Regions from separate parts of the Homo sapiens genome. Here all the other regions are linked to region 2. Evidence: promoter capture Hi-C in 16 types of primary human blood cells and fetal thymus (Javierre and others, 2016). All regions are on one chromosome and are shown on one strand. Each heading gives the region's core, a stretch centred on a gene start or on the middle of the fragment in contact. The rest is flanking DNA. Distances are from core to core; before and after follow the strand shown.

What was found. Contacts are between HindIII fragments. The CHiCAGO score rates a contact against its expected background, and 5 or more counts as called.
Region 1: a contact is called between a fragment that was not itself captured here and the fragment with the promoter of LAMC2 in region 2, in 2 of 17 cell types (M2 macrophages and megakaryocytes). The highest score is 5.6, in M2 macrophages.
Region 3: a fragment that was not itself captured here is called in contact with the fragment with the promoter of LAMC2 in region 2 in 1 of 17 cell types (M1 macrophages); the score reaches 7.1 in M1 macrophages.

The regions. Positions count from the first base shown.
Region 1 is chr1:182,948,848-182,952,426 of GRCh38, reverse strand. SHCBP1L (SHC binding and spindle associated 1 like) reads left to right here. Exons shown (of 10, transcript NM_030933.4): 2 at 960-1,109. Among named protein-coding and RNA genes, the nearest start is that of SHCBP1L, 2.5 kb to the left of the region's middle. The HindIII fragment of the contact is 2,115 bases long and covers 1,080-3,194 here.
Region 2 is chr1:183,184,224-183,187,903 of GRCh38, reverse strand. It overlaps LAMC2 (laminin subunit gamma 2), which reads right to left and starts at 1,640. Exons shown (of 23, transcript NM_005562.3): 1 at 1,473-1,640. The coding sequence starts at 1,551. RefSeq lists a silencer at 1,597-1,666 and enhancers at 1,071-2,270, 1,773-2,355. The HindIII fragment of the contact is 12,597 bases long and covers 1-3,680 here.
Region 3 is chr1:182,985,219-182,988,675 of GRCh38, reverse strand. No RefSeq gene overlaps it. Among named protein-coding and RNA genes, the nearest start is that of SHCBP1L, 34 kb to the right of the region's middle. The HindIII fragment of the contact is 179 bases long and covers 1,200-1,378 here.

The DNA.
Region 1 (3,579 bases), core at 888-3,387, 240 kb after region 2:
GGCATGAATCTTGGTACCTTTATTTAACAGTTTATGTCCAAACATGAGTAAGATCACTTAGCCTTGACTTTTACACTAGAATGCTAGAAATTACTTTAAGGGTACTTCCCACTCAGCAGTCCACAATGCGGCATGATATATATGTGTGTGTATATATATATATAAATGTGTGTGTGTGTGTGTGTGTGTGTATATATATATATATATATATATATATATATATATATATATATATTTTTTTTTTTTTTTTTTTTTTTTTTTTTTTTTTTTGGAGACGGAGTTTCATTCTTGTTGCCCATGCCGGAATGCAGTGGGGCAATCTCGGCTCACACAACCTCCGCCTCCCGGTGCAAGCAATTCTCCTGCCTCAGCCTCCCGAGTAGCTGGGATTACAGGCATGAGCCACCACGCCTGGCTAATTTTGTATTTTTTTTTAGTACAGATGGGGTTTCTCCAGTTGGTCAGGCTGGACTCGAACTCCCGACCTCAGGTAATCTGCCCGCTTCGGCCTCCCAAAGTGTTGGGATTACAGGCATGAGCCACCGTGCCTGGTGGCATGACTTTCTTTTATAGAAAATACATATCTGATAAAACGGAATAGAGCAAATATTTCATGTTTCTAACCTATTTTTTTAAGTTGTAGCAGAAGAATTTGTGTACCTGCATATTCACTGCAGTGATATTTATAAAAAGTTGAAAATTAAGACATAAACAATAACTAGCTGTCTTATCTATGAATTATTCGAGTGAATAGATCTCTTTTAAGTTTAATTTTTTGTTGGTGATGTTTTCCACTAGATGCGGTTTCAGTTAAAATCTGTAATTTTCCAGGTCATTCATTATTTAAGGCTATATTGGTTCCATTTTAAAATAGAAATCAGTAAAAAAAAAAAAAACCACTTAGTTTAAAATCTATAATTTCATATATTTATATGTAGATCCATTTTTTCTCTTGTTAGGCAGAAGATGCTGATGAAGTTATGGGTAAATACCTATCAGAAAAATTAAAGTTGAAAGACAAATGGCTTGGAGTCTGGAAGACTAATCCCAGTGTATTCTTTGTGAAATATGAAGAAGCTTCTATCCCTTTTGTTGGTATATTGGTTGAGGTAAATAAATTTTATTTGATCTTTGTTCTTTTTGAATCAGTTCTTTTAAAGACTAAAATATGACTTTATTATTTGGAGATTGATACACAAGAGTTGACACATTTTTACTTCTGTTTTAAGTTTCCGAGAAAATTAATAGTGTAAAAAGAAGGTTAGGGGAATATTAGTGCCTGTAAACCATTATCATTAAATGGAATCTAGTAGTATCAGACAATATTTATTAGCCTAGTTTTTGCTCAACTAATGTAAAAATAACAAAAATGCATTTCTTATAAAATTAGTGATTCAGTCTTTAACAAACTTGGGCCTTCTTTTTCTGTCTTTTCCCTTTAATCTTCATTTATCTGAATTAAGAAGTTTAGTTCAGATGAGGAAAAAAAAAGAAATGGATCAGAAAACTACTGGGAAAATTTGAAATTTTTTTCCTTTGAAAAGTACCCTTTTTAGGGAGGCTGAGGCAGGAGAATGGTGTGAACCCAGGAGGCGGAGCTTGCAGTGAGCTGAGATCATGCCACTGCACTCCAGCCTGGGCAACAGAGTGAGACTCCGTCTCAAAAAAAAAAAGTACCCTTCTAGTATAATATCTTCCAAGCCTTTATCTGATAAGATTTTTCTTTTTTTTTTCTTTTGAAACAGAGTTTCGTCCTGTCGCCCAGGCTGGAGTGCAGTGGTGTGATCTCGGCTACTGCAACCTCTGCCTCCCCGGTTCAAGCGATTCTCCTGCCCCAGCCTCCCGAGTAGCTGGGATTACAGGCGCATGCCACCATGCCCAGCTAATTTTTTGTATCTTTGGTAGAGACGGGGTTTAACCCTGTTGGCCAGGCTGGTCTTGAACTCCTAACCTTGTGATCTTTAGCAGAGAAGGGGTTTCACCATGTTGGCCAGACTGGTCTCGAACTCCTGGCCTCGTGATCTGCCTGACTCAGCCTCCCAAAGTGCTGGGATTACAGGCATGAGTCACTGCACCCGGCCCTAATAAGATTTTTCTTTGTTAGGCCTGTAGGCTAAACATTGTGGCATGTTTGATTCTGTTAAAGGTCAATTATCCTTATATAGAAATTAATATTTATAACCACAAATGATACCCTTACCCCAGATAGTTAGTTTAAATCTGTATTTTTGGATACAAGAAAAACTTATGTATGTAACTTGTTGTATTATATACTACTTGAAAACAATTTAAAAATATGTGTTCTGTGGAAAAGTCAGTGTCAGTTTTACAGATAAAGAATGGCGGCTGGGCGTGGTGGCTCACGCCTGTAGTCCCAACACTTTGGGAGGCCAAGGTAGGTGAATCACTTGAGCTCAGGAGTTAGAGACCAGCCTGAGCACCATGGTGAAACCCCATCTCTACCAGAAAAACAGGCACACACCTGTGGTCCCAGCTACTCAGGAGGCTGAGGTGGGAGGATCGCTTGAGCCTGGGAGGCAGAGGTTGCAGTGAGCCTGGGTGACATAGTGAGGCCCCATCTCAAAAAAAAAAAAAAAAAGAATACCATATTTTCAGTCACAGAGATTACAAAGGAATGTAAAAGATTATTGGGATTAGTTAATTTTTCAATAAGACTCTATTAGTTAATATTTCAGTAATACTGTTTCTTTTCCTTTTTCTTTTTTTTTCAAGATAAGGTCTAACTCTGTTGCCCAGGCTGGAGTGCAGTGGTGCAATCTCAGCTCACTGCAACCTCTTCCTCTAGGTTTCAAGCAGTCCTCCCACCTCAGCCTCCTGAGTAGCTGTGACTGCAGGCGTGTACCACCACACCCGGCTAATTTTTGTGTTTTTAGTAAAAACGGGATTTCACTATGTTGGCCAGGCTGGTCTCGAACCCCCGACCTCAAGTGATCCACCCACCTCAGTCTCCCAAAGTGCTGGGATTACAGGCAGAGCCACCATGCCCAGCCAGTAGTACTCTGTTTTGTAGAGGTTTGCTCATCTTCAGACTTTGAGTAGCTTTGCCGAGATCTTTCACAACTTCTCTGGATTTTTTTCATCTGGATAAAAATGGTTTTCATCTGGCTTTATGACTTTTTTTTTTTTAGTATAAGTTTGTGGGTTTTTTTTCAATCAGGTTTTATGTGGAAGCTTAACATTAAAGCAGAACATTTCTGATTGAAATGGATGATGGTGTCTTAGCAGCTCTCTCCATACCTCATGATAGCCCCTATACTCCATAAAACTTTTCAAGATCTCTAAAGTTCCATGGAAACTCAGTGGATTAGGTAACCTTAAAGTTCTATCAATTTCTAAGGTTTTACCTGCAATACATTGATTATTTAATCTGTCCCTGCCTTGCTTTAGAATTTGTGAGGGTCTAGTAATGTCCTCTAAATGTTAGAAAGACAGGATGAAGCATAAGAACAGAGGAAAAAGCAAAACAGTATATTGGCAGATTCTAATTCTTTTGTGGCAGAAAAACAAGTGAGAATGGCTCTTGGGACCTCTTAAGATAGTGCTGCACAATTCATATTG
Region 2 (3,680 bases), core at 391-2,890:
TTATAATGTGGCTCAAAAAGCTCCAGCCTAAGAGCCCCTGGATCAAGAGCCAGTTTCATCTCTGCCTGTGTGGCCTTGAGAAACACATTTTCATTTTCTCATTTTTCAAATCAAGAGATTCCAAGTAGTTGATCCATAAGCAGTCCCTTTAAATTCTAATATTCAGAGACTATTTTTACTTTGGGGATGTCTTCCATTAGGCTGAGACTTCTTATCCCAGCCCTAAGAGAACATACCCTTCATGACCATTTTCAGAACCTTTTATTTATCACTTTTTAAAACTATATATATTTAAGGTATACAACATGATGTTTCGATATACACAGTAAAATAGTATTCTAGTCAGGCAAATTAATATGTTCATTATTTCACATACTTATCTCCACCTTTTTTTTTTTTTTGGTGGCAATCATACATGGTTTTGAAAATGGTAGTCAGAGATGATAGGTTGGAAGTTAATTCCAAGACTTTTTTAGACAAAAAGGACTGTAGCATTGCATTCAAACACATGCTCAAACATTATTCATGCCACTCAAATCCAATTCAGGCCAGCATCACCCGGAATGCACAATAATATTGGGAATGGCTTATACAATTGCATGTGCATGTGAGCATTATCTCATATTCATGCATGCACTTGTGTGGAAATGGCTCTTGGTCTTGGACCTATTGAAAGAATGATTGAAACGCCATCAGATGCAGGATGCAATATAAACATAAAACATCAGGGCAATTATACAGGCATATATCCATAGAACTAAGTGACAAGGAAAACACCCATAAAATGTTGCCATAGCTGACACATGCTTACAGTTAAGAGTTGCTAGGTTCTCACAAAGTTTTGTTTACATGAACTTAACGTCTAACACATGACAGCCAACTAGGTGCCCTAGATAAGATCAAATGATATATGACACAGGTGCCCAGTAAGTGCCTGTTGAATGAATATTACATGAAAATACTATGAAAAGTAACGTGATGCAAAAGTTAAGGGTATTGCTAATACTATTAAGGCTCATTTTTCCATCCGAAATTTGAAACATCAATTACAGGATTATTGAAGAGGTTCCTTTGCAATCTTTGTGGTGTTCACAGTCATGGGAAACATTGCCACCAAAACCTTTTAATAAAAGCACACGCTGGGGAAAGAACGTATATAACAACACATTATTGATTAAATAGCGGCCCCTTGGTCGAAAAAAGACATCAAGAAGGAACATTTTTAAGGTAAGGAAGACCCTCTTTTGTCACAGCTTATTGTCTTACTATTTTTAAAAAGCAGATAGCTTTATATATTAGTCTCATTTAAAATCCGTCTCTGGAGGAGCCCCAGATAGGGGAGGAGAAGGGAGCTCTAACAAGTTTCTGGACAAAGTGGGAATCCTCGGAGGTACGTTCAGCCATCACGGTCTGCAGAGAAAGGCAGATTCTCAGCCCAGGGCTGAGATGTTTCCTTGTGGAAGCCGACTCACCTTCCCTCCTGGAGGTGGCCCGGGCTGCGGGCAGGAGGAGCGAGAAGCAGAGGCAGCAGCCCAGCCAGAGCGCAGGCATGGCGGGGCCGGGCCGCTCAGTCTCTGTCTCCGCTGCAGGGGTCGCTGCCCGGCGCCTCGGTTGGTGGTTCTCACTCTGCGCTCCGCTGTGCCTTCCTTTTCCTTGATCAGGTGGTTTTATCGACTCTTCTACCTGACTCAGTCCTGACAGGAAGAGAGCCTGTGTTTCAGGGTGTGACTCACCTGTGAATAAGGAGGACCCAGCCCTCCAGAGGCAGACAAACACACAGAGCACAAACCGGGCTGGAAAATCGCTCCCCGCAGCCGCCCGCTCCCCCTCGCAGCGAGGAGGGCGCACACCTGGCCCGGGCCAAGGGTGTGGCACAGAGGCTGCGGCCCGGGAGCCTTTGCCTGGAATGTGCGAGATTCCCCGGAGCCCTCCTTCTCTCCCGGGGTGGTCCAGGGCAGATTCACAGAGGTAGACAGCAGCCCGCCCCTTCCTCAAACTGGGAGGCCCAATCTTAAGAGCGCTAACTCAGAAATAAGGCAGCAGCCCGAATCAGCTCCGGCTTAAAGGACATCAAGGAAGACAAGTCAGTCGGAGAGTCACAACAGGGTCCTCTCCACCCTCCAGTTTAGGGTCAACCTCTCCTTTCTCCAGGCTGAACCAAGGGTTTCTCTCCTGGTCCACATAACTTCCTGCTCACCAGGGTTAGCAACTCATAAAGTAACCTATTGACTGGCCAACCTCCCTATAAAGACTGAGTATCGTTTTCTTTTTGTTTGTTTTTTTGTTTGTTGGTTGGTTTTTGTTTTTGTTTTCAATGGCACCATCATAGCGCACTGCAGCCTCCAACCCCTGGGCTCAAGCAATCCTCCCACCTCAGCCTCTTGAGTAGCTAGGGCTACAGGCAAATGCCACCACACCCAGCTAATTTTTTAATTTTTTGTAGAGACGAGGTCTTGCTGTGTTGGGCAGGCTGACCTTGAATTCCTGGCCTCAAGTAATCCTCCTGCCTTGGCCTCCCAAAGTGCTGGGATTATAGGCATAAACACCATCCCTGGCCCACTTTATATTCCTAACTATAATAGTATCTAGCTTGCAGTTGGTGCTTAATAAATATTGGCTTGAAATGAATAAGAAAGAGGATCTAGATACCAAACTCTTTTACATCTTAGAGTGTATTTCTCAGCCACTCTCCATGGGCACTAGAGAAAATATTTGTTGAGACCAACTTTGAATGTTATCTACTAGCACAGTGCTAGCTGAAGTGAGTAATATCTAGACAACTGCAAATCTTGGTATAAACTATATTGTCTCTTCTCCTAAGGAGGCTAGTGACAATAATTCAGAGAGGTGGCTGTCAAGAAGGCTTTGGTTCCTGCTAGAGATTTAAAAATTGCTAGAGCTTTATAAATACACAATCTGTCCAAAACAACCAACCCTTCTTCTCAACATTGAGGCCTACAAAGGCCCCCAATAAATAGCTATTTGCTGACTAAATATATGAATATTCTCCAGATTGTTCTGTGGATGACAACAACATAAGATAATGAACAAATCATCCAGGGCAGACATAAGTGTCAAAGGTTCTAAAAACTTCGGTTCATGCATGTCATGGAGACCAGTGTGGGCTGACTGGGATAGCTAGGGATGGCTTTGTACAGAACGTGGAGTATGAACTGGGTGTTAGGAATAGCTGGGGTCTGAATACAGAACCCAAGAATGGTAGGGGCAAGACAGGTTGCTGCAAACTGGCTGACACCTATTCTAAAATCTCCAGCAATAAAACCTGAGGAATAGAAAAGAAACTCCAACTTTCTCATCCAAGGCTTGATTCTCTTCTACTCTGCCCAGGATTCAAACAAATTACACAAATATTCTTCTCTCTCAAAACTCAGAGTCTCCAGCTACAGCTAAGGTTTCAGTTCACAGAGACGGTATTTAGAATTTTCCCTTCTAGTCGCTGGTGCCTTGTGGAGGCTGAGGTCCTGTCCCTGAGTCCCATCTTTGTTGTGCAATTCACCACGGTCCTGCAGGAACAAGGAACAGGGCCCTACAAAATAAAGTCTTGAAGGAAGATTTCATTTTAGTGCAGATTGCTATAGTTTATTATATGTTAAAAGTTGGAACAGATGTTTTCATCTAGCATCATTTTGGGACAGTGATAATAGCAATACAAACACATA
Region 3 (3,457 bases), core at 40-2,539, 200 kb after region 2:
GGAGCAAAAGAAATATAATTAGAGTACAACTGAATTGGACAGAGAAAATATGTGCAGATATAAAGTAAATAAAAAGAATTAGATAAATCATTCAGTTGACTCTAGTAAGTAAAATTTTCTATTACGTTCAACAAGCATTTATAAAATTCCAAGTTCTAATAATGTCTTTTCTTAGTTTTTTACTTAGCCTACATGTTATTCTATTTGTATATATTCATTTAAAAATGTGTGTCCCACCTTCCAAAAACCTGGATTAACTGGTGTGATTTGTTCATTGAGTATAAGTCATGGCACATAAAACTCATTTCTTTTTTTCATAGCATTGCTAAGTTGATTGATTATAGGAAAGCTATAGACATAAGAATTTTTTCTCTAAGGACTTTGGCGCAGAAAATATTCTAGTGAATAAGATGGTTGAAAAATAGGAATGACAATAAATTTTAGGTGGACTTAAATCTAGCTGTAGAATGTGCCCAAACATGTGATTAATGGCTGAGGAGCAAGCTTGGAAAAGTCTCTCATCAACTTCCACAGGAATCTATTCAAGGCACTTTAATATTCAACAATCTTTATAAATGTCCCTAAGAATTTGGAGGAATGTTTGCCACTTTTAAGATGACACAAAGTTTATGAGGATGACAAAAACCTAGTTTTAAAGTGATTTCAATAGACTGAGATATTAAGCTACATTTTTTAAAAAGAAAGTTAGTAGTTCTAAATATAAAATCCCATATATATGTCTAAAAATAACTCACCATCATAGCCAGGGGAAGGCCTGGCTTGATAGAGATTAGGTTAAAAAAAAAAAAGCTACTAATATTCAGCCAGTAGAAGTTTGTTTGTTTGTTTGTTTTAAATGAAAAGGAATGCAGCAGCCACACTAATATTTTTTAAAGAATGCATTAGAAAAGAGGGAAAATAATTTGTTCTCTGTTGTTTTAGAAGCTAACACTAGGACTAACAAATTTATGAGAAAATAAGTGGGTTTTATTGTTGTTATTGTTGAATGTAATAAGACATTACTATAATTATAGCCATCCCAAAGTGGAATGGACTGGCTTGAGTGTAACTACTTGTCCTTCCTGAAAATATTTAAGCAGAAGCTATATGACCATTTATTGGGGAGACTAAAAATTTCAACTGTACCTTGTAGAAATTGGGTTAGCTAACATATTTAACTATTAAGCATCATTAAAGCTTGGAGCAGTGGCTTATGCCTGTAATCCCAGCTACTCAGGAGGCTGAGGTGGGAGAATAGCTTGAGGCCAGGAGTTTGAGGCTGCAGTGAACTGTATGATTGTACCTTTGTACTCCAGCTTGGGTAACAAAGTGAGACCCTGTCTGTTAAGGAAAAAAAAAAGCATCATTAAATAAAGCTTTATCTCACATGTGGTAATGTATTGCTTGGTCAAGCAAACTGATTTAAAGAGAAAGTTTCCAATGCTATAAAACCTTGCGGGACTGAGATCTGTGAGGAGGAGAAAAGCCATTGATTTTTAGGATTGCTTTTTCCCTTGATGTGCTTGTCACTTCTGAAAGTGGAAGCAGCAGCCAAAGGGTGCAATGCTTAGCAGAGTTTTCATTATTTCATGGTAAAAGAAAGACAAAAATTGGAATCCCAGGCCCAAGAAGGAGGAGGAGAAATCCCAGTAAGCACTAGGCTTTTGAATGAGACCTGACAGGCTCTATTCTGGAAGTAAAAGTAGATCAGAAAGAGACCAGACCTCAAAAAGGCTGAAGCCAAACAGTGAATAACCTTAAATCCTGAATAAATTAAACTGATCTTCCCTAGCTTACCTGTTTGTCAGGAGCAGAAGGAGATCACCTGTGGAAAAAGATAATGTCATCCAGAGCCTCAAAATTAATTTTTTGCATAATTTTTAATACACAATATCTGACACAGAATAATAAATAGCCAAACATACAAACCAAGAGAGGTGAGCTGGCATTTGAGGCTGCAATTTTCCATATTCAACTGGTTTTTTTGTTTGTTTGTTTGTTTTGGAGACGGAGTTTTGCTCTTGTTGCCCAGGCTGGAGTGCAATGGCGCGACCTTGGCTCACCGCAACCTCCGCCTCCCAGTTTCAAGCGATTCCCCTGCCTCAGCCTCCCGAGTAGCCGGGATCACAGGCATGTGCCACCACGCCCAGCTAATGTTTTTGTATTTTTAGTAGAGACGAGGTTTCTCCATGTTGGTCAGGATGGTCTCGAACTCCCAATCTCAGGTGATCCGCCCGCCTCGGCCTCCCAAAGTGCTGGGATTACAGGCGTGAGCCACTGCGCCCGGCCTCAACAGTTGATTTTAAAACCAAAATAGGAACTAAAAGTCTGCCCAAAATAAGAGATAAAAACAATAGAAAGAAAATCTCAGATGGAGAAATTTGGCAAAGAACTAAAAATAAATATAAAGAATCAAACGGAAATTCTAGAACTGAAAAAACCTGAAATTAAGAATTCAAAGGATGGATTTAACAACAGAATACATAAATGCAGACAGAATTAATGAGTTGAAATATAGGTCAGATGAAAGAGACAGATTGAAGATGGAGAGAATAAAAGAGGGGAAATACCAAAACAAGCATAAAAAACAAATAAGACTCACTAAAAATGTCTAACCTACATATAAGTGGAGATGCAGATGGAGAAGAGAGAGAAAATGGGCAGATGCAATATTTAAAGAGATAATGGGTGAGGATTTTCCAAAACTGATAAAAAAAATTGAGCCCTGTACAGGTTCAAGAAATATTGAGACTCTTAAACAAGATAAATACAAGACAATCACACCTAAGCACATCAGTGTATAACTGCTGAATCTCAAACACAAAGGGAAAAAAAATTTTTACAAAAGAAGTCAAATAAACTCAGATACCTGCAGTAGAGCAACAATGTGACTGACTACTCACTCACAAGAGAAACAATGAAAGCCATGAAACAGTGAATCGTATCTTCAAAATGATGGTGGGAAAACCTGCCAACCTAGACTTCTACATCCAGTAAAAATATACTTTAAAATAAATATTAAAGGCAGGCACAGTTGCTCACCTCTGTATTCTCAGCACTTTGGGAGGCCAAAGTGTGAGGATCATTTGAGTCCAGGAGTTTAAGATCAGCTTGGGCAACACAGCAAGACCTCATCTCTATAAAAACTAACCAACCAACCAACAACCAACCAAACAAACAAAACACTAAATAAACACTTTTTTTCAAATACAAAAAAACAAGAAACCAGCAGACAACACTAAAGGATGTTCTTGGTATAGAAGAAAAATTACCTAAGATAGAAACTTAAAAATGAGAGAACAAATGTAAGAATGGAAAGGGTAAATATTTCAAAAAATATAAATCAATATTGACTATATGAAATAATCATAATGCCTTGACGGGTTTAAAAATATAACTAAATTGACCAGGTGTGGTGGCTCATGACTGTAATCCCAACACTTTGGGAGGCCGAGAC